7 separate regions of the Homo sapiens genome follow, and all the other regions are linked to region 6. Evidence: promoter capture Hi-C in 16 types of primary human blood cells and fetal thymus (Javierre and others, 2016). All regions are on one chromosome and are shown on one strand. The core of a region is centred on a gene start or on the middle of the fragment in contact, and the rest is flanking DNA. Distances in the headings are between cores, read along the strand shown. Region 1 has its middle 27 kb from the start of MIR4290HG. Region 2 has its middle 68 kb from the start of MIR4290HG. Region 3 overlaps MIR4290HG (MIR4290 host gene). Region 4 has its middle 5.4 kb from the start of MIR4290HG. Region 5 has its middle 48 kb from the start of MIR4290HG. Region 6 holds the start of GADD45G (growth arrest and DNA damage inducible gamma). Region 7 has its middle 26 kb from the start of MIR4290.

Evidence for each region. The method cuts DNA at HindIII sites, captures the fragments that hold promoters and counts their contacts. A CHiCAGO score of 5 or more calls a contact.
Region 1: a contact is called between a fragment that was not itself captured here and the fragment with the promoter of GADD45G in region 6, in 16 of 17 cell types (M0 macrophages, M1 macrophages, M2 macrophages and 13 more). The highest score is 18.7, in M0 macrophages.
Region 2: a contact is called between a fragment that was not itself captured here and the fragment with the promoter of GADD45G in region 6, in 17 of 17 cell types (non-activated CD4 T cells, M0 macrophages, total CD8 T cells and 14 more). The highest score is 58.5, in non-activated CD4 T cells.
Region 3: a fragment that was not itself captured here is called in contact with the fragment with the promoter of GADD45G in region 6 in 11 of 17 cell types (M1 macrophages, M2 macrophages, naive B cells and 8 more); the score reaches 12.0 in M1 macrophages.
Region 4: a fragment that was not itself captured here is called in contact with the fragment with the promoter of GADD45G in region 6 in 14 of 17 cell types (M1 macrophages, M0 macrophages, M2 macrophages and 11 more); the score reaches 14.4 in M1 macrophages.
Region 5: a fragment that was not itself captured here is called in contact with the fragment with the promoter of GADD45G in region 6 in 17 of 17 cell types (M0 macrophages, M1 macrophages, M2 macrophages and 14 more); the score reaches 52.6 in M0 macrophages.
Region 7: a fragment that was not itself captured here is called in contact with the fragment with the promoter of GADD45G in region 6 in 17 of 17 cell types (M2 macrophages, M0 macrophages, M1 macrophages and 14 more); the score reaches 48.5 in M2 macrophages.

The regions. Positions count from the first base shown.
Region 1 is chr9:90,066,082-90,069,951 of GRCh38, reverse strand. No RefSeq gene overlaps it. Among named protein-coding and RNA genes, the nearest start is that of MIR4290HG, 27 kb to the right of the region's middle. The HindIII fragment of the contact is 4,200 bases long and covers 1-3,870 here.
Region 2 is chr9:90,107,281-90,110,896 of GRCh38, reverse strand. No RefSeq gene overlaps it. Among named protein-coding and RNA genes, the nearest start is that of MIR4290HG, 68 kb to the right of the region's middle. The HindIII fragment of the contact is 6,474 bases long and covers 1-3,616 here.
Region 3 is chr9:90,024,468-90,028,253 of GRCh38, reverse strand. It overlaps MIR4290HG (MIR4290 host gene), which reads left to right. Exons shown (of 4, transcript NR_038882.1): 3 at 2,155-3,691. Among named protein-coding and RNA genes, the nearest start is that of MIR4290, 2.8 kb to the right of the region's middle. RefSeq lists an enhancer at 3,318-3,367. The HindIII fragment of the contact is 8,601 bases long and covers 1-3,786 here.
Region 4 is chr9:90,045,049-90,048,701 of GRCh38, reverse strand. No RefSeq gene overlaps it. Among named protein-coding and RNA genes, the nearest start is that of MIR4290HG, 5.4 kb to the right of the region's middle. The HindIII fragment of the contact is 2,701 bases long and covers 539-3,239 here.
Region 5 is chr9:90,087,561-90,090,988 of GRCh38, reverse strand. No RefSeq gene overlaps it. Among named protein-coding and RNA genes, the nearest start is that of MIR4290HG, 48 kb to the right of the region's middle. The HindIII fragment of the contact is 6,772 bases long and covers 1-3,428 here.
Region 6 is chr9:89,602,790-89,606,528 of GRCh38, reverse strand. It overlaps GADD45G (growth arrest and DNA damage inducible gamma), which reads right to left and starts at 1,517. Exons shown (of 4, transcript NM_006705.4): 1 at 1,355-1,517; 2 at 996-1,097; 3 at 649-862; 4 at 1-560. The coding sequence starts at 1,407. The coding sequence ends at 450. It overlaps LOC105376139 (a long non-coding RNA gene), which reads left to right and starts at 1,513. Exons shown (of 2, transcript XR_930105.3): 1 at 1,513-3,739. RefSeq lists a silencer at 2,148-2,197 and an enhancer at 1,808-2,706. The HindIII fragment of the contact is 4,421 bases long and covers 9-3,739 here.
Region 7 is chr9:89,995,223-89,998,954 of GRCh38, reverse strand. No RefSeq gene overlaps it. Among named protein-coding and RNA genes, the nearest start is that of MIR4290, 26 kb to the left of the region's middle. The HindIII fragment of the contact is 5,680 bases long and covers 1-3,732 here.

The sequences.
Region 1 (3,870 bases), core at 589-3,088, 460 kb before region 6:
AATCCCACCCTGTCTGACTTGTGAGACGTAGGGAGAGCAGAGATAAACATGGGAGAGAAAACCTCCTGGGGGTGAGCTAATGACAGCTTGTAGAATAGAGTTCACAGTGTTTCTTATTTATGTTCTTTCTCCCCATTTTATTATTTTTATTATGAGATGGGGACTTGCTCTGTCACCGGGGCTGGAGTGTAGCAGTGCAATCGTAGCTCACTGCAGCCTCGAATTCCCGGGCTGAAGTGATCCTTCTGCCCCACCCTTCCAAGTAGCTGGGACTACAGGTGTAAGCCACCATACCTGGCTAATTTTTAAAAATTCTTTTCAAAATTTATTTATTTATCTCTCTATTTGTTTGCTTACAAGTTCTCACTAAGTTGCCCAGGCTTGTATTGAACTCCTGGCCTCAAGTTAATTCTCCTACCTGGACCTCCCAAGTAGCTGTTTACAAGCACGAAATACTATGACCAGCCCTCCAACTTTATTCTTGATGGTAAGTTTCCAAATTGCTTACTTTAACTACAAGTGCCTCTGAGCTTCTAACTTGGGTTATACTCAAGACTATGTTTACTCATCACAACATTGAAAGTTGAATCCGTCAAAATGTTCAAAGCACTCCATGCTGGTCCTTTTGTTCAAGTTAGACCAGCCCAAGTCACTACTCTTACCAGACAGAAACCAGAGTATCTACAAGGGAGTAAAAGCATCAAGTGGAAAGACAGGAAAAGCAAGAGTCAGCGTGGTCTCTCCTTGGAAAAAGGCAACCAGGACTCAAGAACAGGCTTCAACTAGCTACTTGCCTGGTAGTAGGTTGATTATAGTACAGTTTATTGTCCAAACAGGAAAGGGATGCTCTTCATAATTACACTGGAACAACAAGCATGCATCTGGTGTAATTCCATTTATGTAAAATTCTAGGAAATGTAAACTAATGTATAGTGACAGAAAGTATCTTAGTGTCTGCCTGGGGTGGGGAGGAGGGTTGGGCCGGAGGGAGTAAGAGTAAGCATAAGGAGACTTTAGGGAAGATTGGCATGTTCTTCACTTGGATTGTGGTGATGGTTTCACAGGTGTACACAAATGTCAGAACTTTTTGAGGTATACACTTTAAATACATGCAGGTTATTGTTTGCCAATTATATCTCCACAAAGCTATTAAACAGTCTATACCACAGCCAAGATTATGTTGCTGGACGTTCTGATAGTATCTTTTTGTAAAAGAAATGAAAATATTGCAAAAACATCTTTTCTAACCTCCTAACCTTCCCTTATTCTCTCACCTCCTACGCCATTTCCCCAAAGTAACACCTATCAAGATGGTAGCGTACTTTCCAGGCACAATTTTATACATATTCTGTGTGTACATATCCATTAAGTTTATTTGTTTTCTTTTGTGGGCGCAGAATCTTTGCATAAGTATTATCATATTGAGGAAATTATCTAATTTGTGACCACCGGGAGAAAAAAAAATTCTCCTTTTGCTGTCTTCTCTCCAGATCTGAGTGCCAGCTAGCCTCCTGGGGTTGCTTTTCAGGAGCCCTTAGGTTATGACCCCTGTTTATTAGAGGCGTTGTATTCTCCTTGGTTGCACTCCTTTTGTTTGTTTTTGCAACAGTGTATTTTCAAGAGATCTTAGAAAATATTTTTCTGCACCTTCAGAAAAGTACATAGATGAAAAGTAAACTTTCTAATCCTTCCCCGAATGTCTAAAAGTGTATTTTAAAATTTTTTTCAATTACATTTGATCTATAGTTTGACTGGGAATAAATTTTAAGTTCCAAATCATTTTCCTAAGAACATTCAAGCACTGTTCCATCATCTTTTAAAAACTAGTGTTACTGATGGAAACTTTTCTACTAGTCTTTTTCTTCTTCCATTGCAGGTAACATGCATGTTGCTTTTAGAATGTTTTAGTGTCTTTGTTTTATTCTTAGTTTTCTGAAATTGCCTTAGGATGTGCCTAAATGAAGATCTAGTTGAATATGTATATATTCCTTTTTTCTATCATTGTTTAAAACATATAATAAACTCCCCCTTTTTTCTCTCTCTTTTACTTTTGTAGACTCCTAATAGAAGATAGCATTTCTGAATGAGCAATCTCTGTTCTCTGTCTCTAGTTTTCTCTGTCTCTAGTTTTCTCTGTCATGTTTCTCATCTCTTTGTACTGAGACATTTCTTACTTTATAAATTAGTTCTATTGAACTGTTTTCTTTAGGTACAATATTTTTAATCCCATGAACTGATTCTATGTTCTGATTTTATACCTTCCGAACAATAGTCTGTTCTTAAATTGCGAATGTAATTTCTTCTCTTCTAACTCTGAATAGAGGTTTGAAAGTACCTCTTAGTTCTCTGGATTGTCTTTGTTTCTTTTCTTTTCTTTTTTTTCTTTTCTTTTCTTTTTTTTTTTTTTTTTCTTGAGACAAAGTTTCACTCTTGTTGCCCAGTCTGGAGTACAATAGCACAATTTTGGCTCATTGCCACTTCCGCCTCCCAGGTTCAAGTGATTCTCCTGTCTCAGCCTCCAGAGTAGCTGGGATTACAGGCATGTACCACCACGCCCGGCTAATTTTTTATTTTTAGTAGAAACGGGATTTCACCATGTTGGCCAGGTAGTCTTGAACTCCTGACCTCAGGTGATTCACCTGCCTCGGCCTCCCAAAGTGCCGGGATTACAGGCATGAACCACCATGCCCGTCCGATTATCCTTGTTTCTTCTGGGATCAATTCTATTCACTCCCTCCTAGACCCTGTTCTTTTCTTTCATTTTCCTTTGATTCTTTTTCTTGGAGTATGAGTTTATAAATAAATCATATGGATGATTTATTCAGAGAGTTCACAAGGTTTTCTTCTACCATTACTCTCATTTTTTGGTCCTTCTCCAGGGTCTGAGGGCTTCTTGCAAGGTCTGACTACAGGTAAGATACATCACCTGGTGACTTCTTTAAGGGTATAAATAATGATAAGGGAAATTGGCAGGCCTACTCAAGCATCAGATACAAAACTGGGCCGTATCTCAGGGCCTCTATTGTTTTAGGAGCCCTAGCTTCTCTCCTAAGCAGGCATTTCTGCCTTTAGTCTGGGAGTAAATACTGGCTGTAGGAACAAAAGGTGGAAAAGCCTACCATGACCCCAATTCTATTCTCAGAGTTGCTCTAAACTTATTCTGTTTATATATTTCAATCCCAGGATCATGACCCAAATAAACTACATGCATTGAATCTGCTCTCAGTTCTGGTTCTGGAGGAACACAAAGATATTCTCCTGAATTCAACACTTGCCTGCAGAATCCAGAGATTTCCTTTCTTCAATTCACCAACTAAGGGTTTGTAAATATATTACATGTCACTTTGTATTTTTACAGAAAAATAGTGTATATAAACTCCAAAGCTGCCAGAATCACCGCTGTCCATTTTATGACACTGTAAAATGAGGAAGGTTTTTGCATAGATTGCACTGCACTGCCCTTCTTGAATCTTTCATGCACTAACCCTGACCTTGCCTTCCACAGCAGACCAGAAAAAAAATAATTCTATAATCTAATAGTGTCCACTTACTTTTGACTTCTGGACAACCCTGGTTTTTATGAAAGATTTCCCTCCTGTGCTTTAATAATTAATAGGTTGGTGCAAAAGTAATTGCGGATTTTGCCATTAAACCTGCAATTACTTTTGCACTAATGTAATAGCTAACAAAATAATGCATTGCATTGTATCTATTCATCAAGTTAGTTAAATAATGAGTGACTGATCACCTATTTGGTGCCAGGCCTTTTAGAAGATATAACATCCATCATCACAGCCCATCACAAAGTTTATAGTCTAGTGAGAAAGACACACAAACGATAATTATGATGCATGAGATAAGGGCCATGAG
Region 2 (3,616 bases), core at 754-3,253, 500 kb before region 6:
GCCGTTTTATAAGGGCACTAATCCCATCCACAGGGGTGGAGCCCTCAGGGTCTTATCACCTCCAAGGGCCCCACCTATTAATATTGTCACCTTGGGAATTAAGTTCCAACATATGAATTTTGGAGTGATACATGCATTCAAGCCATAGCATATCCCCAAAGTAGTAAAGACAGCCAGATCAAGGGCCTGGGGCCATTGGACAATTGAAAATCCTCACCTTTTGGCAGGGGTTGTAACCAAAAATCAGGCAATATTTGCATATCATCTGGCAATGTTTGCGAGCAATAAAGAGACAATATTTAAAAATATATAATGGTGATTTTTGTCTCTTGGTGCCCAAACTTATATCTTTTTATAATAAAAATAATCAGAGTAAGGTGCAGAGAGAGGCAAATTATTGCAGATTTTAAGACAGAAGTGAATCTCCGAAAAGTGTAAAAAAATGTATATTTGATTTTAGAGATTCTGTCATTTGCCCAGAATTTATACATCACTTACCATGTGCCAGGCTCTTTTGGGTGCAAAGGAAAAGAATTAGACAATCGCTGTCCTTCATGGAACTTCCAGTCCTAGAAAGGAGAAAAATGTATTTAATAAATCACAACATATTAAGTGATGGTATACAGAAAATGCTGTGAGAATACAGACAAAGGAGTGGGAAAGCCAGCATCAAGTAACAGATAAGACTTCCTGAAGATGTCACACTTTTGGATACAGTTTGAAAGCTCTCTAGCAGTTCTTCAGGTCAAGAAGAAAGGAGCAACATTCTAGGCAGAGGGAAAGGAGGGCATGATTGAGTTTGTACTCCCCTAGAAGCAGATCCCAGTACAAGGATGTGCAAGTAGTTTATATGGGACTGTAGGGAACACAGGGAGGTAAATGAGAAAATGTTGAAGAAAAGAAGGGCAACTGGAGAAAACATACAGCATAAAGTTAGCAAGCAAAGTGAGCATTTGGAACCTAATTTCACAGGGAAACTGGGAAATGGTGAAGAGCACACACCTAGAGGAGAGGGAGCTGGGGTATTTATACAGTCATATACTGCAGCCCATTGGCGATGGTCATACCTGGCCTTTCATTAGAAGGGCAGTGTAGTTTTGACTTGGCTTTGGAGAATTCCTAAAGGCCCAAATACACAGATACTGGCAGTCAGAAGTCACTGGAGCATTCTAAATAATAATGCCTGAAAAATTTCGGCAGGGCAAGAGCAGATTCTGCTACAAAACATGAGCCACTGAGATGCAAACAAAGCAAGTGTGTTCACAGATCATTCTCTGGGGTTGGTCAGAGCAGCCCAAGATAAACCTGGAAATGCTGTTGTTTATTTCCTTCTTTATCATACTTCGACAGGTGGGAACTGCTATGGTTTGAATGTGTTCCCCAAAAGCTCATGTGTTGGAAATTTAATTCACAATGCAACAGTGTTGGGAGATGGGGCCTAATCAGAGGTGATTGGGTCATGAGGGCTCTGCCCTCATGAATGGTTAATCTTTGGAGTGGTTAGTCAAGAGTGGTTGTTATCAAGTGAGTCTGGCCTGGTTCTCTTTTGCAAGTGCTCAGTTGCCCATCCACCCTTCCACCATGGGATACCATGGGATAATGCAGCAAGAAGGCCCTCAGCAGATGCAGCTGCCCGATCTTGGACTTCCCAGCCACCAGAATTATTAGCTAAGTGAAATTCTATTCTTTATAAATTCCCCTGTGTGTGGTATTCTGTTATAGCAACACAAAATGGACTAAGATAGGGGCTCATGACTGGGGAGAGACTGCTGCTCCCAGGGCCAGCCAGTTCTCACAGACAGCAGACTCTCCTGGGAATGGGCTTTTTATACACAAACCAATGAACCCAGAGCCCATGTTCCATACCACCTCCTCTGTCTGACTGTTATACTACAGGAGGCAATGTTCCTCTGCCCTAGTCATCCCAGGGCCAGCAGCAGACAACTAGAGACATCCCTTATGCTCAGAGTTCATGGGAATTAAACTAGAAAATTCTAGGCTGCTTACTCTGCCTTGCCCATTTCTTCCTTTGAAAACCACAATAAAAGCACTTTCCCATGTTTTTCCCTCTATCCTCTCTGCCTCCTGGCCAAGCCTTGTGCCTCCCCATGTGGCCCAGCATAGAGTGCTTCCTGTTTCTAGGGAACTATGAGCAAAAACTTCTTCCTCCATATCAGTCATTTCTGTGTTGTTTGCCCTACCACACCTGCTGAAGACAAATTTCAGGTACATTTTAACACAGAAGACACAGTGCAAACAGCCATAGGGGGCCAGGGCAAAAGACCCGGAATGTCTCCTCTGTGTCCCTGGAGATTTTATTCTTGGTAAGTACACACACTTGCATAGTAATTACCCTTACTAAGTTGAAAGACGAGTTTGCTCAACTGGATACAGTCTCTGATGACAATTTTCTTGGATGTCTTCCCTCTCTAATAGCCATAGGACTCTATTTTCTTTCTGGCATTCAAGTTCCTTTGATGTGTCTAAATGCAGCCTGTTTCCTCCAACCAGCCTGTGTTTATGCTGGAAATACAGATCTGGGGGACATGGGGGTTGGGGCTGACATTTGCTGTGTCCAGGATCCTGGTCCCATATGCTGCAGTGTGAAGTTTTCACAAAGACAGTGGCTTCCCTAGATGGACTTCCTGCCTGAGCAAAAACGGGTCATCATCAATAACAACAATAAAAATCAGCAAAGTAGTCATATACACATAACAGTTTTCCTGAGTAGAAGATCAGTTGGAAGAAGGACAAGCAAAGACTCTCCTGGGAGTGGGTTTTTTATACACAAACCAACCAACCCAGAGTCCATGTTCCAAGGGCTGAGTCACTGCAGTAGGTTGTTGTAATTGTCCAGTGAGAGAGAGCGTAGCCTCTAGTGGAATGGCAGGCCTAGGAAAGAGAGGCAGGGAAACCAATGCCAAAGGGTTTAGGAGGTGTCTGCATGGAAGAGTGCAACTAGTGGGCACGTGGAAATGAGAACGACAAGGAGGAAGAGGAAGAAAGGATGATTACTAAAAGTCTTGCTTAATTAGGTAGTGCTGTTTCTAACCAAACTAGAGACTATGGAGAAAGAAGCAAGTTTAAAGAAATAAAAAAAAAATTAAGTTTTGGACGTAGGTATCTGTGTTAAAACCAAATGGTTATGTCTAGTAAGCTATCTGAATTATGAAATATGCATAAATATCCACACTTTGGCTGGAGATTAAATTTGGAAATATCCCATGGTAACTGAAATCCTGGCTGTGTACAAAGTCCCAGAGTCTGAAATGAGAAAAGAAGAAAGCAAAAGGTATTCACACTGACAGCTCTGTTGTCAAATGGAACTCTGTTATTACAGCTCCTTGGCTGAGTATAGAGATGTTCATGTTAACTGGAAAAAAAATAACATGTTAACTGGAAAAAATAAGTATGGTGTATCAGACTAGCCAGTGCTATCACGGAAATCTTTGTCATGTTGGTTGAGAATGAAGTTATTCTTACTTCAAGAGAAACAGAGGCCTGAGGAGCACTACTTTTAAATTTGTTTTCTAGGAGACCCATGCTATGTTGCTAATAAACAGTTTTGTTTTGACAGCTTCCATTTGCTATAAATATAGTTCCAAGGACAGTGTCC
Region 3 (3,786 bases), core at 388-2,887, 420 kb before region 6:
TTAAAGTCTTTCACTCATTTTTTAATCTAGTTGTTTGGCTTCTCATTCTCTTGATGTTGTCTTTTGCTGCACAAAAATGTTTTATTTTACTGAAATCCAGTTATCAATTATTTCTTTCATGGACTGAGCCTTAGCTGTTGTATCTAAAAAGTCATCACCATACCCAAGGTCATCTAGGTATTCTCCTATGTTATCTTCCGGGAGTTTTGTTTTACATTTTAGACTCAAGTCTATTGCCTACTTTAGTTAATTTTGTGAAGAGTACAAGATCTGTATCTAGAACTTTTTTTTTTTTTTGGCATGAGGGTGTCCAGTTGTTTCAGCCCCATTTGTTAAAAAGACATTTCTCCATTGTATTGCCTTTGTCTTAGTCAAAGTTCAGTTGACTATATTTATGTGAATCTATTGGGCTCTGTACACTGTTCTGTTGAGATGCTTGTCTATTCTTTCACTGATACCACACTGTGTCAATTACTATATGACAAGGACATATTTGTATCCCTCCAAAATCCATATATTGAAACCCTAATCCCCAATGTGAAAGCATTTGGTGATGGGGTCTTTGAGAGGTAAATAGGTCACAGAGTGAAACCCTCATGGTGAGATTAGTGTCTTTACAAGAACTGACTTGAGAGAGCTTGTCTTTTCTCCCTCTGCTCTCCACTGTGAGATGACTAAAAGATGACTATCTGTGAATGAGAAAGAGGGCCCTTACCAAGACCTTGACCATACTGGTACCCTGATCTTGACTTCAAGCCTTCAGGACTGTGAGAAATAAATGTTTATTGTTTAAGCCACCCAGTCTATGGTGTTCTGCTATGGCAACCCCACTAGGTTACATATGAGGCTGGTGTCCTGGCTGCCCCTTGTAGGGCTCAAAGGTTGGACCACAGACTTGATCGGTGTGATTCAGTAACATGTCCTTGTTCCACAGTATTCATTTAATTCTAAAAGGAATACTTTAAAAACTCACTAAAGTCTTCCATCCCTTCTTTCACACAAACCAAAGCAGCATTTTCAGCACTGCGGTATGTGATGAAAATATGGCACCCCAGGGGGCAAAAGAATCTTTTGTGCAAATGCAGATGAAACATCAGTTGTGATTTGCAGGACATAGAAGGGCCTGGATCTCAAAGATTGCTTGTTTCTTTTGCAAACTACAAAGTAAATTCTGTATCCCCCAACTGCCACCTTCTGACTTCTGTTCACAAACATTGGGCCAAGAGAGGCCTGAGGTCAGTATACATGCCTGCAAGTGGCCTTCTTGAAGGCTTGTTTGCTTCATTTTTATGCCTACAAGGTTGACATAGAATTGAGTTGTCCTCTGCATGGTTGCTGAATCATGATATATCATTTAGTAAGAAGAAAATTGTGACCAGGTGCTACAACAAAGTTAAGGGATGATGAAGTTTGTGAGATATGATTTATGAACACAGTTAAGGGTGGATGGACACACTGGAGAATTTGCAGAAATAGGCTGGTGAAGGAAGGCATTGGAATCTACCCATGGACTTTTATAACTAAAAGATTGAAATTGACTTTCACCTTTACCACCCCACCCCTTCCTCACCTCAACTCCCCTACACCATTGGAGGGTTACAGGAAGCAAAATAGAATGTTCCAGGTTGATCTACCTGATACCTTGAGGAAAAGGCACTGGTAGGTTCTCACTAGAAGAAATATCAACAGACCACAGATCCTATTCTTCCCACCCACATTTCCCTTTTAAAAGTGTAAATTTTGGAGTTAGCTCTGGGTCTGAACCCCAGCCTGTCACAGTAGGGACAAGTTACCTACATGCTCAGAGCCTCTGTTTCCTTGTCAACTAAATCAAAATAATATAGTTGTCTCTACAGCTGAACTTGAGATGTTGAAATAATATAGATACAGAGCCTGACAAATAAGATGCCTTCAAATCATTTCTCTGATTTGGACAATTTTCACTGAGTTATTTTATTTAGTATCTGTGTGGACCTGTCTCTGTGCTAGGAACTTTCATGCCACCATCTTGTAAGGTTAGTGAGCCCCCAAAACTTAAAGAAAGGGATGCTATGTCTGCACCAAGAAAGCTAAGAGGCAATTAAAAATACCTATAAACTGGCAAGCTACAGCTCCTGTTTCTTTGTTCACCTGTTTTGTTTTGTTTCCACCCAGATGATGCCAAACAGTCACTGCAGAAGAATTTGCTGCACGGAGCTGTCTGGGATGCCTCAGACCTGCCAGCGGTAGAGCTGCCTGCCTTGCTTCCTCTTGCTTACTCACAGCTCTAAGTCTGAACTTGGCTGCAGCTGTCCTGAACAGCCCAGGAGGAGCCTAGGCAGGAGGAGGCTTCTCTCCTATGCAATTTGGCTGAATTTTAGTTACTCAAAAGAGCAAAGGAAGCACTTCTGAATATTCGTCAGGAGGAGCCAACCACCTTAGCTTGCTCCCTGATGGGTTTTGTTCAGCCCCTGCCTTACTGTTGTCAGCCTGGACTGTCTTCTGGGCTTGGGTTCACCATGTGTCTGGACCACGGGAGTGTCTCTAGGTGTCTCCCTTCCTGTGCATTTCTCCTGGGCATAGACACCCATCCTGTGGAACACTGGGAGGAGGGTGCAAGACCCCACTGCACCCAGGCTTGGTTCCTCTTGGGTGCAGCAGCCTCATCCCCTTGCAAGCCTTCCTCCCACTCCTCCCAGAAGGCTCTGCTTCCTCCACTTGCTCCTCTCCTAGGTGTGAGCCAGCAGGGTTTGGTCACCCAGATATGAAGTATTAATGTTGGACTCCTGTCTGGAGTCGGGAGTCTATTAAGGAAGACGTGTGGGAGAGGCCTGTGTTCAAGGCCCTTAGAACCATTCTGCCTGAGCCATCAGCTCCTTAAAAAGAAATCACCAAAGATCCCAAACAATGGCAGAGTCCCCCTCCCACCCTTTGGGCTACTTGGTAAATAGGCCCACCAATTCTATCTCCAAAATATCTCCCATCAGGACCATGTGTATATTGACATCTTTATCTTCCATCAGGTCAGGGTTGCCACAAAAGCCTCCATCCAAATTTCCTGAAAAAGCCCAGTTTCTCTAAATGTGTGCATGAACACGGTGCTGGGCATGGCCCTCTCCTCTCAGTCCTTCTGCAACGCCCAGTGCCTTCACAGCCAAGGCCAGACTTCCTAGTGGAAGAGCAAAGTCCCTCCTGACACGGCTTCTGCTTGCATCTGCAGCCCCACTTCCCCCACACCACGCTGCACCCTGAGCTCCTCACGGAGAGCCACCGTGTTTCACACCTGCCGTGCTCTGGGCCAGGTCGCTGGGCTTGCTGGTCCTTAGACTTGGAGCACCTGATGCTGTTTGCCCATCTGTGTCCTTGTCAGCCTTTGAGAATTGGATCTGGCAGCCCCTCCTCAGGAAGCCCATGAGAGCCTCCGCCCCATACTCACACAGACCCTGAGCTAGGTGGCCCCTGCCTGTGTCCCTCAGCTCCCAGCCCAGCTTCCATGCAGCTTTAGCACAGTTTACCAGCACCATCAAGACCCCTCTGGGAGGACAGAGAGCTCTGGGAGGACAGAGAGCTCTGAAGGACAGAACACGCATGCCTTTCTGGTTGTTCCTCTGAAGCCTAGCACAACACTGACACGTGAGAAATACTGGCTGAATAAAAGGTGGAAGTGAAAAAGAACAACACTGACACGTGAGAAATACTGGCTGAATAAAAGGTGGAAGTGAAAAAGAAAGACAAGAAAGGAGGATAGAAGGAAGCAGAGTGGTTGGGAGGAAGGGAGGGGGGAATAGCTTTTCAAGGAAAAATGAT
Region 4 (3,653 bases), core at 640-3,139, 440 kb before region 6:
TAAAACTCCCTCATAAAAGAAACCTTTGAGTCCAGATGGTTTTACTGAAGAATTCTGCCAAATATTTCAAGAATTAACACCGATTATACATAGTCTCTTCCCCAAAATAGAAAGAATGGAAACACTTCCCAATGAATTTTATGAATCCAGCATTATACTGATACAAAACTAGACCAAAAGTATACCAAAAGGAAAACTACAGATTAATATTTGCCATAATTATAGATGCAAAAAATTTTAACAAAATAACAAATAGAATTTAGCAATACATCAAAATAATCGTACATCACAACCAAGTGGATTTTGTTCCTGAAATTCAAAGCGAGTTCAATATTCAAAAATCAATTACAGATACTTTTCAGCTTACCATGAAGTTATGGCCCAATAAACCCACTCATTAGTTGAAAATATCGTTAAGTCAACAATGCAGTTAATATGCCCAACCTACCAAACCTCATAGCTTAGCCTCGCCTACCTGAATTGTGCTCAGAATATTTCCATTAGCCTACAGTTGGGAAAAATCATCAAACACAAAGCTTATTTTATAGTAAAGTATAAAATGTCTCACATAATTTACTGAATACCATACTGAAAATGAAAAACAGAATGGTTAGATGGTTTTGTACTATTGTAGAGTCAAAACATTGAAAAATTTTAAGTCATACTATTGCAAGTCAGGAACTGTCTGTGTGTAACTGACCACATTTACAAGCTAAAGAAGAAAAATCACCTGATGACATCAACTGATGTAGAAAAAAGCATTTGGCAAAATGCAACACTGATTCATTTAAAAAAAGAGAGAGGGAGAAACAAAAAAGAAAACTTTTAGAAAATAGTAATAATAGTAATAAGGGAGAAACAATAAAGAAAACTTTTAGAAAATAGTAATAATAGTAATAAGGGAGAAACTTCCTCAACTTCACAAAAAGCATTGGTAAAACCACAGCTCACTTTATACTGCATGGTGTGAATGCTTCCCCCTAAGATTTGGAGCCTGGCAGGGATGTCTGTTCTCATCATTCTTAGTGAATACAGTGCCAGAAGTTTTAACCAGTTCATTAAGGCAAAAAAAAAAAAAAAGAAAAAGTAAATAAAAAACAGAATGCAATGAAAGAAATAAAACTGTCCCTACTTGTAGTTGGCTTGATTGTCTACTCACAAAATCCTAGAGAATCTACAAAAGCACACCTAGAAGTCTGGGCGTGGTGGCTCACACCTGTAATCCCAGCACTTTGGGAGGCTGAGGTGGGCAGATCACGAGGTCAGCAGATTGAGACCATCCTGGCTAACACGGTGAAACCCTGTCTCTACTAAAAATACAAAAAATTAGCCAGGCATGGTGGTGCACGCCTGTAATCCCAGCTACTCAGGAGGCTGAGGCAGGAGAATCGCTTGAGCTGAGATGGCGTCATTGCACTCCAGCCTGGGCAACAGAGTGAGACTCTGTCTCAAAAAAAAAAAAAAAAAAAAAAAAAAAGAAAGAAAGAAAGAAAAAAGCACACCTAGAACTAACAAGTGGACTCAGCAATATTTCAGGTTAAAAGAGAAACATACAAAACTCAGCTGTTTTTCTGTACTCTAGAAGAGAACATGTAGTCACAGAAATTAAAATATAATACCATTTACAATAGCTAAAAGAAATGAAATACTAAGGTATAAATCTAACAAAGTATAAACAGAATTTGTACCACAGAAGGCTGATAAAAGAACTCAAAGATCTATAAAAGTAAATAGAAATACCATCATAGATTTAAATAATAGATTTAATCATGGATTCAAAGACATAAGAGAGTGAGGATGTCAATTCTTCTCAAATTGATCTATAGGTTTAAACAATTTCTTTCATAATCTCAGTAAGACTTTTGTAGATTTGGACATTATTCTAAAATGTGTGGAAAGGCAAAAAAAAAAAAAACCAAACAGCTAGTATAGCTAAAAGAACTTTGAAAAAGAATAACTTAGAAGTAATTAGTCATCAAGACCAGTATGGAAATCTGGGTTTGGCCACCCACGGGCCCCATGTGCTGCAGCAGATGGCTCGATCTCACAATCTCAGTTTCCCCAGATTTAAAACTGGAGGTAGGACAGTAACCTCTCTATCGTGCTCCTGTGGGGGTGAAGTGAAGTGATGCACGCAGAGCCCCTGTAGCGTGCATGGCCCACAGGGAGCATTCCACAGCTGCTGCTTCTTCATAAAGCATCATGTGCAGGCAGCCACTGCCCCTGGCTGTGCCCACCAGGTTACAGAACATGAGAGCACGGGCACCTCACTCGGGCACACCACCCTAAGTATGGTGGGCTGTGGACATCCCTTCTCCACTTGTCTCCCTCACACATTTCTCCAGAAGTGCTCTGGGCCAACATCAGAAACCAGGATTCCAGCTCCTGTTGGAGATGAAGACCTGCATCTGATTGCTGCTGCCTGCAGAAAGGACAGGGCTGCCTCAGTAGGACCATGCTGACATGAGCCTTGATCTGCCCCTGCTCCCTGCCTCCTTCCACCTATCAAAGAGGTGATGTCACATTCATGAAGACGATTCTTGTCAGAAAAGAGGGAAGCCAAGTCCCAAGGCACTTTCCAACTTGCTCTATCTCCCTGTGACCCTGTTTCCAATGATTTGGGGCTAGTGCATTTCTTCTTATAATTGTAGTAGAAAGCGTCTAGAAGGACCCCAGTACATTTGGTATTCACACCCTTTGTGATACCTTCTTCTTGAGTGAGGGTGGGACCCAGTGACTTGCTTCTAACAGAGACCATATGGCAAAAGTGATGGGATGTCACATCTATGATGAGGTTACAGAAAGACTGCATTCTGGCTTGCTCATCCTCTCTTGTCTTATGCTCATAACTGCAGAAAGTCAGCTGCCACAGTGTGAGCTGCACTCACAGTACAGACACACCTTGCCAAGGGACACACAGCTCCAGCCGACAGACCATGAAGATCTGAGACCCTCCATCCAACATCTGCAAAGAATGGCATCCTGCTCCTACCCAGGTGAGTGAGCTTGGCAGCAGATCTGACCTGTTCCTCAAATCTCAAGATGGACGCAGACCCACAAACATGCAGACTGCTACTCTGAGACCCTGACCCAAACCACCCAGTGAAGCCACACCTGGATTCCTGACACTCGGAAACTGAGATACTATAAACGTTTGTTGTTTCAAACCACTAAGATTTGTTATGTGGCAATACATCACTAATATCATTGTGTTAGGTCTTAAATCATCCTAAAAAGCTTCTTAGGTGAATCCTTTATTTCCACTGAAATACTCCCATTATCACAAATAAAGGGACGATGAGAAATTGACATGAAATTCCTAATGCCTATACAGTAATCTTAAGTGTCCAACACTAAACCTGTATTATATACCAAATACTGTATGCATTTCATACACGGCCCATGAGACACCCTATTGCTTCCTTAATCTACTTTTCTACTTCTGATTTATTTTTTAAATGGAGCTAGGCTTTAAAAAAAATATATTGAGTGGCCCCTTCTACAAATTGCCAGCTATCCATAAATTGTTCCAGTGCTGATAAATGGATGCATGCGTGCCCCTAGGAAGCTGCAGCCTGTGGTGAGTCACTCTGTTGCCTTCCTCTGAAGCGTCCAGGACAACTGTTCTGGCCTGAGATGAATTGATCATCATC
Region 5 (3,428 bases), core at 124-2,623, 480 kb before region 6:
GGGGAGCTCGTGCCTCAGGTGATTTCACGGCTATGAGAGGTCAGCGGGTTTCCATGGGGCTGCAGTGGAGTTGAGGAGGCTTGCCTTGAAGAAGCTGATATGCTGCAAATAGGTAAAACAGAGGAATTCCGACCAGATCTCTGGATTACTTGTGGAAGTATTAAGGTCTTCTTTGGGGGTCCACTTCTGAATTTACATGGATATTCACCCTCAGTTACCTATGGTCACTTGATTTAATGAATGTGTGTTGAGGACCATGATGCTCCCACAAAGACCCCTGCCTGCATCCTCGTCAGGGAGACAGACAGAGTTTAATATCTATGCAAGTTTACACAGTACACTAAAAGGTGGTAACTTTAATGAAAAACATTGAGCAAGTTAAAGGGAATTAGGAATGGGAAGATAAGGTGGTAGAATGAGGCAGTTATTTGGAGGTTATTATTTTTAAAGGGGAAATTTTGACTGGATACTGTAAGGCTAAAGACAAGAGGTTTTAATTACATAAAACCAGTACTCTACAGGGTTTATGTAGAGTTAATTACATAGGACTGTACTCTAGTGAATACATTTGTTTCTCACAGGAGTAGAGATTAGCGATTCTGAAACAACTTTACCTGTGTACTAGAATTAAACAGGTGAGTAAATAAATTATAGATCATGAGACCCAGGATTCTTACCCACAGAGAAAGAAGTTACAAGTAAGCAAGAGGGGAAGAAATGCTAGGATAAACTCTATTCTTCTGGTTTGCAGTTGGAGATATTAATATGAATTCTGTTTATTTTAATGTGTCTACAAATGAATATACAGAAATAAATACATATGTATGTTTACACATGGGTTAATATACATACACTTTTTTTTTTTCTATTTCTGCCTGCTGAGAGGACTTAGAAACTGTGACATCCTAGTAGCAATAAGCACACACCAGCACCTAGAATTTGGTGTCTAAAATCATTCTCCAATAAAAAGAACCAGGACTCCACAGACAATGTCTGATGCTAGGGCTGGGGAAGGGAAAATAGAAGGTGAGCTTGGAGCATCTTATTGTGCCAGAAAGTGAGCAAGTGATTTAAAACAATTGGAGGTTGGAGGTGGTCATAGGAGTATTTCAAAAGGAACAAACCTGAAGGAGCTACCAATGGTCATAGCTGCAACAATTTTAGCAAGAAAAAGAAATGATTATTGTATTTGATTGTAACCCAAAGAATAAAATAAATAGCCATGAGTTCATGTTGATATAAATAAATGACTACATAAGTAAGATGGGAGAGAAGAAACACATTTTTCCTATTGAATAATTCCAATTAATAAATGCAAGAGGATTGAGAGAAATGGAAATCACCACGAGAATCCCACAGCCATAATTGCAGCAGGGAAGACCCACTGATGAATGCTTGATATTTCCACAATCTCAGAGTATTTACCCCCAAATATTTCCTAATTACTGTGGTAGTTTAAAAATATCTCCCCAAATACTTTAGCATTCTTCTTTTCTGGAACTGAAACTTAGTTGCCCTCCCCTAAGGAACAAAGCATGGTAAGGGAAAAATAGTGACTTTTCAGTGGAGAATAGTGACTTTTCAGTGGCTGACACCACCTTAACCAAGTGATGCGGGTGAACAGGCAAACAAGTGAAGGGGTGAACATGACATTAACATCACAGGTGGTTGATATCATTCACCCCTTCATGTATGATGATAAAAGGCAGACAGACACAGCCCCCCTATGGAATTCTCCCTCAAGATTCACGACTTCTGTGGCACCACGAGAAAACAACAGACAACCCCAGTATGAGGGAAAGTCTGCAAAATACTTGATGAGTATTATTCAAAAGTATCAAGGTCACAAAAAACCCTGAGGAACTGTCACCAATTCCAAGTGACTAAAGAGACATGACTACTAAATGTGGTGTAATATTCTGGATGGGACTCCGGAAGAGGAAAAGGCCAGAGCAAAAAGCTGGTGAAATCTGAATAGTCTGTAGTTTAGTGAATTGTGTTGTATCAATGATGAGTGCACCGTGGTTTTGTGAGATGTTGACATTAGAGGGAGCTTGGGAAGGACCAGAAATTCTCAGCACTATCTTGTAACCCTTTTGTAAATTTGAAATTATTTCAAAACAAAAAAGCTACATAAAAAGAGAAGGAACCACTGGCCTTACGGAGATTTTGACAAGTAATAAAAAATAATTGCCTGCATGAGGCCAGACTTCCGCATGAGAAAGCCCAAAGGCTGGTTCCAGATGCTCCTCTGTGAGACCAGGCCGGCCTGACCCCTTTTGTGTGGCTCTGTGGCAAAGGCTGACAACTGTGCCTCTGGTGATGGGTGAGAGAAAATGAAGGCGGAGGGACAGGTTTCTTTCCACCACAAAGCTGAATCAGGGCTGGACCACGGCCCCTTCCACAGCAGTGAGTTCCAACAGCACAAATGCAATCTGTAGACATTTTCTTGGCTGGAAAAGAATCAGGTCCAACTGGAGGCACCTGTCAACTTGAGCTGATTACAGATCAAAACGGGATGGTTGTGGACTCCTGAAACTGCTGTTGGGGTTTTCAGTTTAGTCTTGGTGTCTTCACGTTTTTTTCCTTCTGATTTCATCTCTACATCTCGGGCAAAGTAATCCATCCACAGCAAGGAGCAGATGCACCCTGCTGGCTAGTAGAGAGACGCCCTCACTCATCAAGATAAAAACCAAACTGCAGGAGAGGACTGCTGCCATCTTGACATAAGCATTGCTTTAAGTTTGACCATCAGTTTCATCTACATGAATTTCATGTAGACATAACCTTGTAGAAGACTACAGGGGCAGAGGAGGGCAGTCAGGGTTGGGGGAGGGAAGAGACAGCTCTGATGACCTGGAAAAAGATTCATTGGTAAGCTGGGTGCGGTGGCTCACCCCTGTAATCCCAACACTCCAGGAGGCCGAAGTGGGCAGATCACGAGGTCAGGAGATCGAGATCATCCTGGCTAACACGGTGAAACCCCGTGTCTGCTAAAAAAGACAAAAAATAAGCTGGGTGTGGTGGCACATACCTGTAATCCCAGCTACTTGGGAGGCTGAGGCATGAGAATCGCTTGAACCCAGGAGGCAGAGGTTGCAGGGAGCCGAGATCTCGCCACTGCACTCCAGCCTAGGCAACAGAGTAAGACTCCGTCTCAAAATAAATAAATAAATAAAATTAAAGTTTCATTGGTGATTCTAGGATTTATCAAGATACCATCTTTCCTCTTCCTCCCAAAAGATTACTGAGTGTAGACAGTCATTGACATCATATCTGTAATGGAAAGGATACAGGAACACAGGAGACCTGGCTCTAGTTTGAGCTTTACGGCAACCTGTGTCTCTGGATAAAGACCTCAACTTTTCTAGGTGTCATTTTCTCACCTATTAGCCAGCAGGGTTGAATAATGGTAACTTCTGGGGCCT
Region 6 (3,739 bases), core at 268-2,767:
TCAAAGCTTCAACAGCAGCATCCTTTAGAAAACGAAGCATTGCCCGGATCCGTTTTGAAAAAGCAGCGCAGTCGGCTAAGTCCTTCACGCTCCTGCAACTGTACCAAGTCCAGGGCGCCGCTCCTTCCTGCCGAGCGCAGGCTGCTGAGTCACGCCTGCCCGGCCAGTCTGTCCTTCCTGGCCCTGAGGCCAACGTCCTAGCCTAGGCCTTCCTGGGCGAGCAGCCGCTCCAGACACTTGCAGAGTCCTCAGCTCGGACCAGCCTGGCCCTGCCGCCACCGGGCCCCTCCTCGGGAGGCCGCGCCTCCTCGCTCTCCAGGCGCCCCCCCCGCCTGCCAGTCTCCACGCCGCACTCGGGCACCCTCGGAGGGCCCCTCCACAGAGCCAGCCGCGCTCTAGGCGCCCCGGGGCGTCACCACGTCGATCAGACCAAGGTCCCCGCCGGGCTGTCACTCGGGGAGGGTGATGCTGGGCACCCAGTCGTTAACGCTGCGGCTCTCCTCGCAAAACAGGCTGAGCTTCTCCAAGGCGGGATCCTTCCAGGCGTCCTCGTTGGGGTTCTGCGGAGAGAGAGCAGGGTCAGCCTGGCTGGCCGCGGGCCGAGGCGGGAACGACACTGGGGCGGGGACAGGACGGGACTGTACTCACCGAAATGAGGATGCAGTGCAGGTCGCCCGGCGCACCCGCCTCCTCGCCGGCGCCCACGATAGCCGCCAGCCGCTGCACATCGCCCACGCGCACTATGTCGATGTCGTTCTCGCAGCAGAAAGCCTGGATCAGCGTAAAATGGATCTGCAGCGCGATGTCGCCCTCGTCCTCCTCACCCGCAGCCAGCACACAGAAGGTCACATTGTCGGGGTCCCTGCGAGGGCAAGGCGGGGACCTAGGTCAGAACCGGCTAGCCGAGTTCTCCCGCCGCCACCCCTCCCATCCGCCAGTCTCCTCGCCATTCACCCCCGCCCCTGTCTCCCAGCCTGGGCCGCGTCTACACTTACACGTTCAAGACTTTGGCTGACTCGTAGACGCCGGCAGTGAGGCAGCCCTGACGCTGCGCCGACAGCAGCAACTCATGCAGCGCTTTCCCGGCACCCTGCATCCTGCGGAGGAGCCAGCGCAGTGAGCGGGAGCCGGCCGGAGGGCGCGGCGGAGACCCCAGCCCCGGCCACCGGCACACACCCTTGGCTCCCCAACTCCAACCACACTCCAATCCCGGCTCAGCGCCTGCACCCCGGCTCTCCAACCGGGATCTGGCGCCCGGACCCCCGCGCTCCCCTCCTACCCCGCGGATTCCCACCCTGGAAAACCCTGACGGTCGCCGACCGACCAGCGGCTTTCTCAGCGCCCTGAAACCCACCTGGCTGTGCTTTCCGGAACTGTGTCCTGGCCGCGGACTTCTTCCAGAGTCATAGTGCGATCAACCAGCAGCTAGTTATCCACAAGCGGAGAGCGCGGAGGGGACGCGGGCGAACACACTGACAGCCAGAGCTCAGCACGGCGCGCCCACCACCAGCGAGTGCGCCCCTACTACGCTGCGCGCCCTTATATAGGCTGGTGGGTGCGGCGCCGCCAGCTGGCGCGAGGCTGCGCGCCTATTGGCCGGCACCCGCTTTCTGATGTAAATGAGGCGGCGAGCCAGCGGCTCGTGCCAGAAGGCCACGTGGGGAGGGGTGCGGGGGATGACAATGCCTCAAATCTGCCGCTTTTGTTGGGGTGTTACCAGGCAGACTGGAGCCTGCAGATTTCATCTCGCCTGGCTTTTTTTTTTTTTTGAAGTCCTTAAAAGGAAAAAGTAAAAAAAAAAAAAAAAGAAAAAACCCAACCCACAAAAACCTTGTTTGCTTATATGATGCTGCAATTTGCGAAAAGCACCTTTATAGAAGCAAAGGGATTTTTTTTTGCATTTTGTATTGCTACCTTTCTATTTGTTTCTTTTCTTTAATTTGAAGTCTATGAGACTGTTGCATTGGAGCCAGAAATTAAGGTAAAAACAGGTAGCGCCAGTTAGAGGCTTGCAAAAGGCAGTGGGCACAGCCCCCTGCAGCTGACCACTAGCGTCCCGAGCGCGCTGGTGATGCCTGCCAGGCATACTCAATGTGTACATTGAGCCGTCTCTGGAAGATCCCACCCCACCTCCCCGCCCTTGGCCGAGCGCGGCGGGGCGCGGGAGACGGGGGCGGGCGGGGACGAGCAGATTGCGGCCGGCGCACGCCGCTCGTTTGCATTTCTATGGAGGGCGCACAATAGCAGAGGTCTGGCGTGTGGCGGTTTGCTGTAGGGACAATCGAGGCTTTCTCTTCATAGCAACACTGTCCACCTGCCGCCGGGTGGGGTGGGCAGGACCCCGCCGCGCGTGGGGGTCGCCGGGCTGCCTGGCGCGTGGGGTCGAGGCTGAGTGCCACTCCGTGGTCCCTGAGTGCACGCCCCCAGTACTGGCCCTGCTACAAGTAATTCCCTTCCATCCGTTCCTCGCACGGGTGCCGAACAGCCGCGCGAGTTGGGAAGGACGGAGAGCTGCTGTGCAGTCTTCGCGGCTGGACGCCCTGTGGCCGGGACCCCGCGGCTGCAGCCCCTGGAGCTTAGGTAATGCAGCTCGGAATCTTTCCCGGGGCGCCATCTGCAGGCAGGTTAAAAAGATCCTGAACCCCTTTTGTCCTCCCCTCCCCCCAACACACACACCCTTGCATTGGCCTGGCGCGGGGGAAGGGCGGTGGAGAGGGACGGCCACGGAGCTGCCCGGCCGGGCCCAGTGAGCCCTGTCCAAGCTGCGCATAAATAGAACCCGAGTAAGGGCTGCAAAACGCATTCAGGTGGGACTGCAGTTACCCTGGGGAGTAGAGGGCAAAAGGAAATTCCCATCCAGTACTGATGGAGTAAGAGCCCCTACGTCTTATACCATGTTGAAATATCTTAATTACTTAAATGCGCATATGTAAAAAGCCTTTTTTCCGGCAATGGAATAAGTCTGGAAGAGATCTTGGGAGAGTTTAATAGGCTAGAGGTTGCTGCCGTTTGACCATACACGCTGGCACTTTCAGAGGATTCACCCACTGAGCACCTTCTGTGCTACGTGAAAAGGCGCGCTGGGGGACACCTCATTGCTTCCTTTTTTTGGGTGAAGCCTTGGAGACTGGCCAGGACAGTGGCGGGCCGGGTGGATTGGATGGAAACCCGGGCCCTGCCGCAAGACTGGGGCGATAATGGGAAAGTAAACAACGCCGTGGCTTTGTTCCTTTCATTCAGGCTTTCTTCAGGTGGGTGGTGAATGTACAAGGTACTTCTGAATTTGTTATGGGGAAGTTTCCATTCTGCGCTTGCAGGCAGGCACTTCTGCCAAGGTGAGAAGCTGGCGTCTTGCGCCCCCCAGCGGCTTCCTGGCAGAGGAGAGCTGCAAAAGCCCGGCCCTTCCTGGATTCTAAGAATGAAGAGCTTGCTCTCCTAGCATTTCTGAACTCCAGAGGTGTCTCCTAAGGACGGGGGGAGAGGGGAGGGGGAAGCGGAGCCAGGCGGCATTATGCCCCGTTTGTTCGCTAGTTTCTTTTCTTTCTTGATGTATAAAATGATGATATGCCTTGATTGGATAAAATATGTTAATTTTAAGTGATTGGAATATAGGTATTACTCTTTTAAAACTATTAAACTTTTCTTTTCTTTTCTTTTCTTTTTTGAGACGGAGTCTCGCTCGGTTGCCCAGGCTGGAGTGCGGTGGCACAATCTCGGCTCACTGCAACCTCCGCCTCCC
Region 7 (3,732 bases), core at 672-3,171, 390 kb before region 6:
TCATTTTATTACCCAAGTGAGATTCATCCTCCATGGAGCATAGTGTTGCCTTTTATCTTTGGCTATGCCTGATAAGTCAGCAAGTGCCCACGCCTGAGGTAGACATGGATATACATATATGCATGTGTGCATATGCATGAGTATGAAAGCAGATGCTGTAACATGCTTAGAACAGAATCCACACTCCTCTCCCGTTCAGGCTAGTGCCCTGCTATTTGGAACGCCATTTATTGGATAAACAACAGACAAGTATAAATTAATACCATACTTTAAAAAAAAAAACTGCATGTGGTGCCTCAAGCCTGAGCCATTAGAACAATTCCCCGAGTATGAGTGTGAAGCTACTCCCAGAGCCAGGAGGCCTCCATGTGTATCTCCACCACTCCCTCTGCAGCCCCATGGGTGGTGAGCCTGGGGACCCCAGTGAAACCATCTCCAGCTCCTACCAGATTTCCAGCTTCTTGAGGAAGGAGGCCGGCAGGGCTCAGTACATTGGCCACAGAACGCAGCCGGAGAAGGAATCCAGGGTGGTCTAGGCCAACCCGTACCCCCTTGATGGGGTCGATTGCCAAATGTCTGTGAATTTCGGGACCAGTTGTTACACACAGCCATTATTAAAAATTAAAATGAATAGATTTGCAATAAAATAAATTATATTAAAATTCAAGATAATAACCCCCACATTGTGTTATTATCAGTGTTCTCTAGGCTGCGTGTCTGTTTATCTGTCTGGTGATATATGTACGTCATCGTACTTAAGGTAGTGGCTCTGCACACCCTTTCCAACTCTGTTTTTGGTGACATGGCATTAGCTTTCCATTGGCTGTCATGGGAGGATTTATACCACAGACAATGACAAATATTACAAACCAGGTGTCCCATACATAAACACAATATACATCCATCCATATGCATATACCAAGCACACATATACTTACATGCCACACTTATATGCATGCACCACACAACACACACACACCACACTACACACAATACACTGTTGGTTCCTCCCCCAAATCCTCTAAGATTAAGAACTGGAAGCCAAGCATCTTTTAAGGCGGCCTTCCCAACCTGAGACCTTGGGTGGCCTCCCAGGTCTGAGAGAAGTTGGGATGTCTCATCCCCACCACAGGGAGGTGGCTCTGGGCAGGGCCAGAACCTGATGCGGGGCTAGTGGAGGCTGCAATGTGGTCAGGGATGGCCTGAGAGGGCTCAAGGCCCTCTGAGCAGAGCCCTGCTCACACCCAGGGTCCTTCAGTCAGGCAACAGTAGCCCAAGGTTTTCTTGGGCGATCTATGTCCCTGGCAGCATCTGCCCCCTTGGAATTGCAGGTGGTCTGCAGCACCTCCACACCTGGAACCCCACGAGGAGCCTTGCCTCTGCCTTCACAGCCTGTTTTTTGAGGACAACAAGGGGGCTCTGCCTGGTGCTGGGGATAGATCAGGAAAATGCCCCTGTTCATCCATCTACCTCCTGATCTCTTTTCATCCCAGACTGGCACACAGCTCCTGGAACCCTGGGAGTTTGCTGTTTTCTGTGTGCTAATGAGATGGTGGGTGGCTGAACTCTAGACAGTTTCAGGATGGCGGCTAGTGGCCAAAAAGACCAACCATGATGCCACTTCATCCCCAACCCAGAGAGGGGGGGAGCAGCTGGAGACTGAGTCAGTCACTAATGGCTAATGATGTATCAATCACACCTACATCATGGAACCTCCACAAAATCCCCAAACAAAGGGGTTTGGGGAGCTTCCAGGGTGGTAGAAGCATCCACATGAAGTGGGGAGCTGTGCACTGAGAGGACAGGGAAACTCCACACTTGTTTCCCCAATACCTTCTCCTATGCTTCTCTTGCATTTGGCCACTCCTGAGTTTATCTTTCATAACAAAACCATAATTGTAAGTAGAGTGCTGCCCTGCATTCTGTGACTCATTCTAGCAAGGGATTAAGCCTGGGAGAAGGTCATAGGAGCCCCTGATTTCACAGCCGGATGACCCTTGGGCCTTGTGGCTGGTGTCTGCTGTGGGGCAGAGTCATAGGACAGAGCCCTTCACCTCCAGTGTTCATGGCATGAACTTGTTGGACACCCAGGTGGCGCCGGATAACTGGAGAACTGAGAATTGAGAATTGCCACTTGCAATGACACCAGACAAGTGCAAAGTCAGACAAAGTCCTGTGTCCTCTCTAAGAAGGCCAATGCCCCTAGTTATTCTTTAAGCCTGAATCCAAGGGTCTCTACTATGTCTCCTTCTTGGCTGTGGAAGACAGCCCCCTCCACCCTCCCATCCCACTCCCCGGCAGTCCCCAGAACATTTCCATGGCATTTATCACTACAGAGAGGTTTGGATAGGTCTAGGAAGTTAAGACCTCCATAGGCCAGGTGGACCTGGGCTCACCCATCCTTTTCCTGCCACCTGTGCCCCACCCACATCTCCAGAGCCCAGACCCCAGGTCTGGAGCCTCTTCTCACAAATACACCATGCCCAGCCGTCACACCTGGGACCCCATGATGCTGTATGTTTCCTGCTGTGTCTCCCAGCAGACTCTGCTCCACCACTGCCACCTGGGCAATTCGCAGCAAGTGCATCCAGACCACAGGCATTGGCAGCAGGGAGTCAGGCCCGGGGCAGAGACAAGAGCCAAATCCTGATGTTGACATGCAAAGGATGCCACACCTCCAGGGACATCCAACAGGCAGCCAGTTCCAGCCAGTTCCAGCCAGTTCCAGGGGATGAAAATACAGAGATCCTTTACCCGCCTCCACCCCCTCTCCAAGCAAAATTGCCCAGTGCTCCTTTGAAGACTCCGAGGTTGCATCTAAAATGCTTCTGGAAATTACTGTTTGAGGTGTCACCCACCTCCCACATCCAGCCCCTCACAGGCACCTCAGTTGTGCAAGAAGGAGGAAGAGCTGGGGGAAAGATTAAATAGAAGGTGTTGGCGGGAGTAGGGGGAAGATGAAATGACAGGAAGATAAACACGGGGTCCTACACCAATGAGACCCAGGGTTGGGGCTGGGTGACCACAGCCAGCCACTTGATGTCTCCAGCTCTCTTTAAAATAGAGACGGAGTGAAATCTTTCTTGTTGTGGCAACAAAGTGAGGGAGGCACGAAGAACCTCTGTGAATGTGATGAGCCCACTGAGGAGAGGCGAGACCACCAGGGCAGGCGGGGCTGTCCTCACCAGCTGGCCCCCTTGGGCCCAACACCCCCCTGCCTGCCCTTCGGCCCCTGCCTGAGGGAAAGAGGAGACCCCAAGAGCAGCCAAAGACACTGAAAATGAAACACAGAACAAAAACATCAAGACCAAAGCAGAATGGAGCAGTAGTGTGTGAGTCTACGGGGCCATCCTGAAGGGTGAGGCGGTCACTGACAGCGGGGGTACGGAGGCACAGCCGCAGTGTCAGATATCTGTGCCTTTGTCTCATCCTCTGTGAAGTGCCGATAAAACACACATTCAAAATGTGACTTCTGCCCTGTCAGTGACTCCCTAATCTGGGGAGGCAGGCTTCAAGATGCTTTCAGTCCCTGGGGATGTTTGCAGACAGAAGTAGAGAGACATTGTCCGTGGAAAGCCATAATCATCTAGTATTTGAATGTTTCCGAAAAGGCTTGTTTTCGTCTGAAATGACATAGCTGCCCCTGTCGGTTTTGTCCACCCTGTATGTCCTGTTCCTTTCATTCTGGAAACACAACAAACCGTGCGTAAACAAACGTGGGCAGCTCTCTAC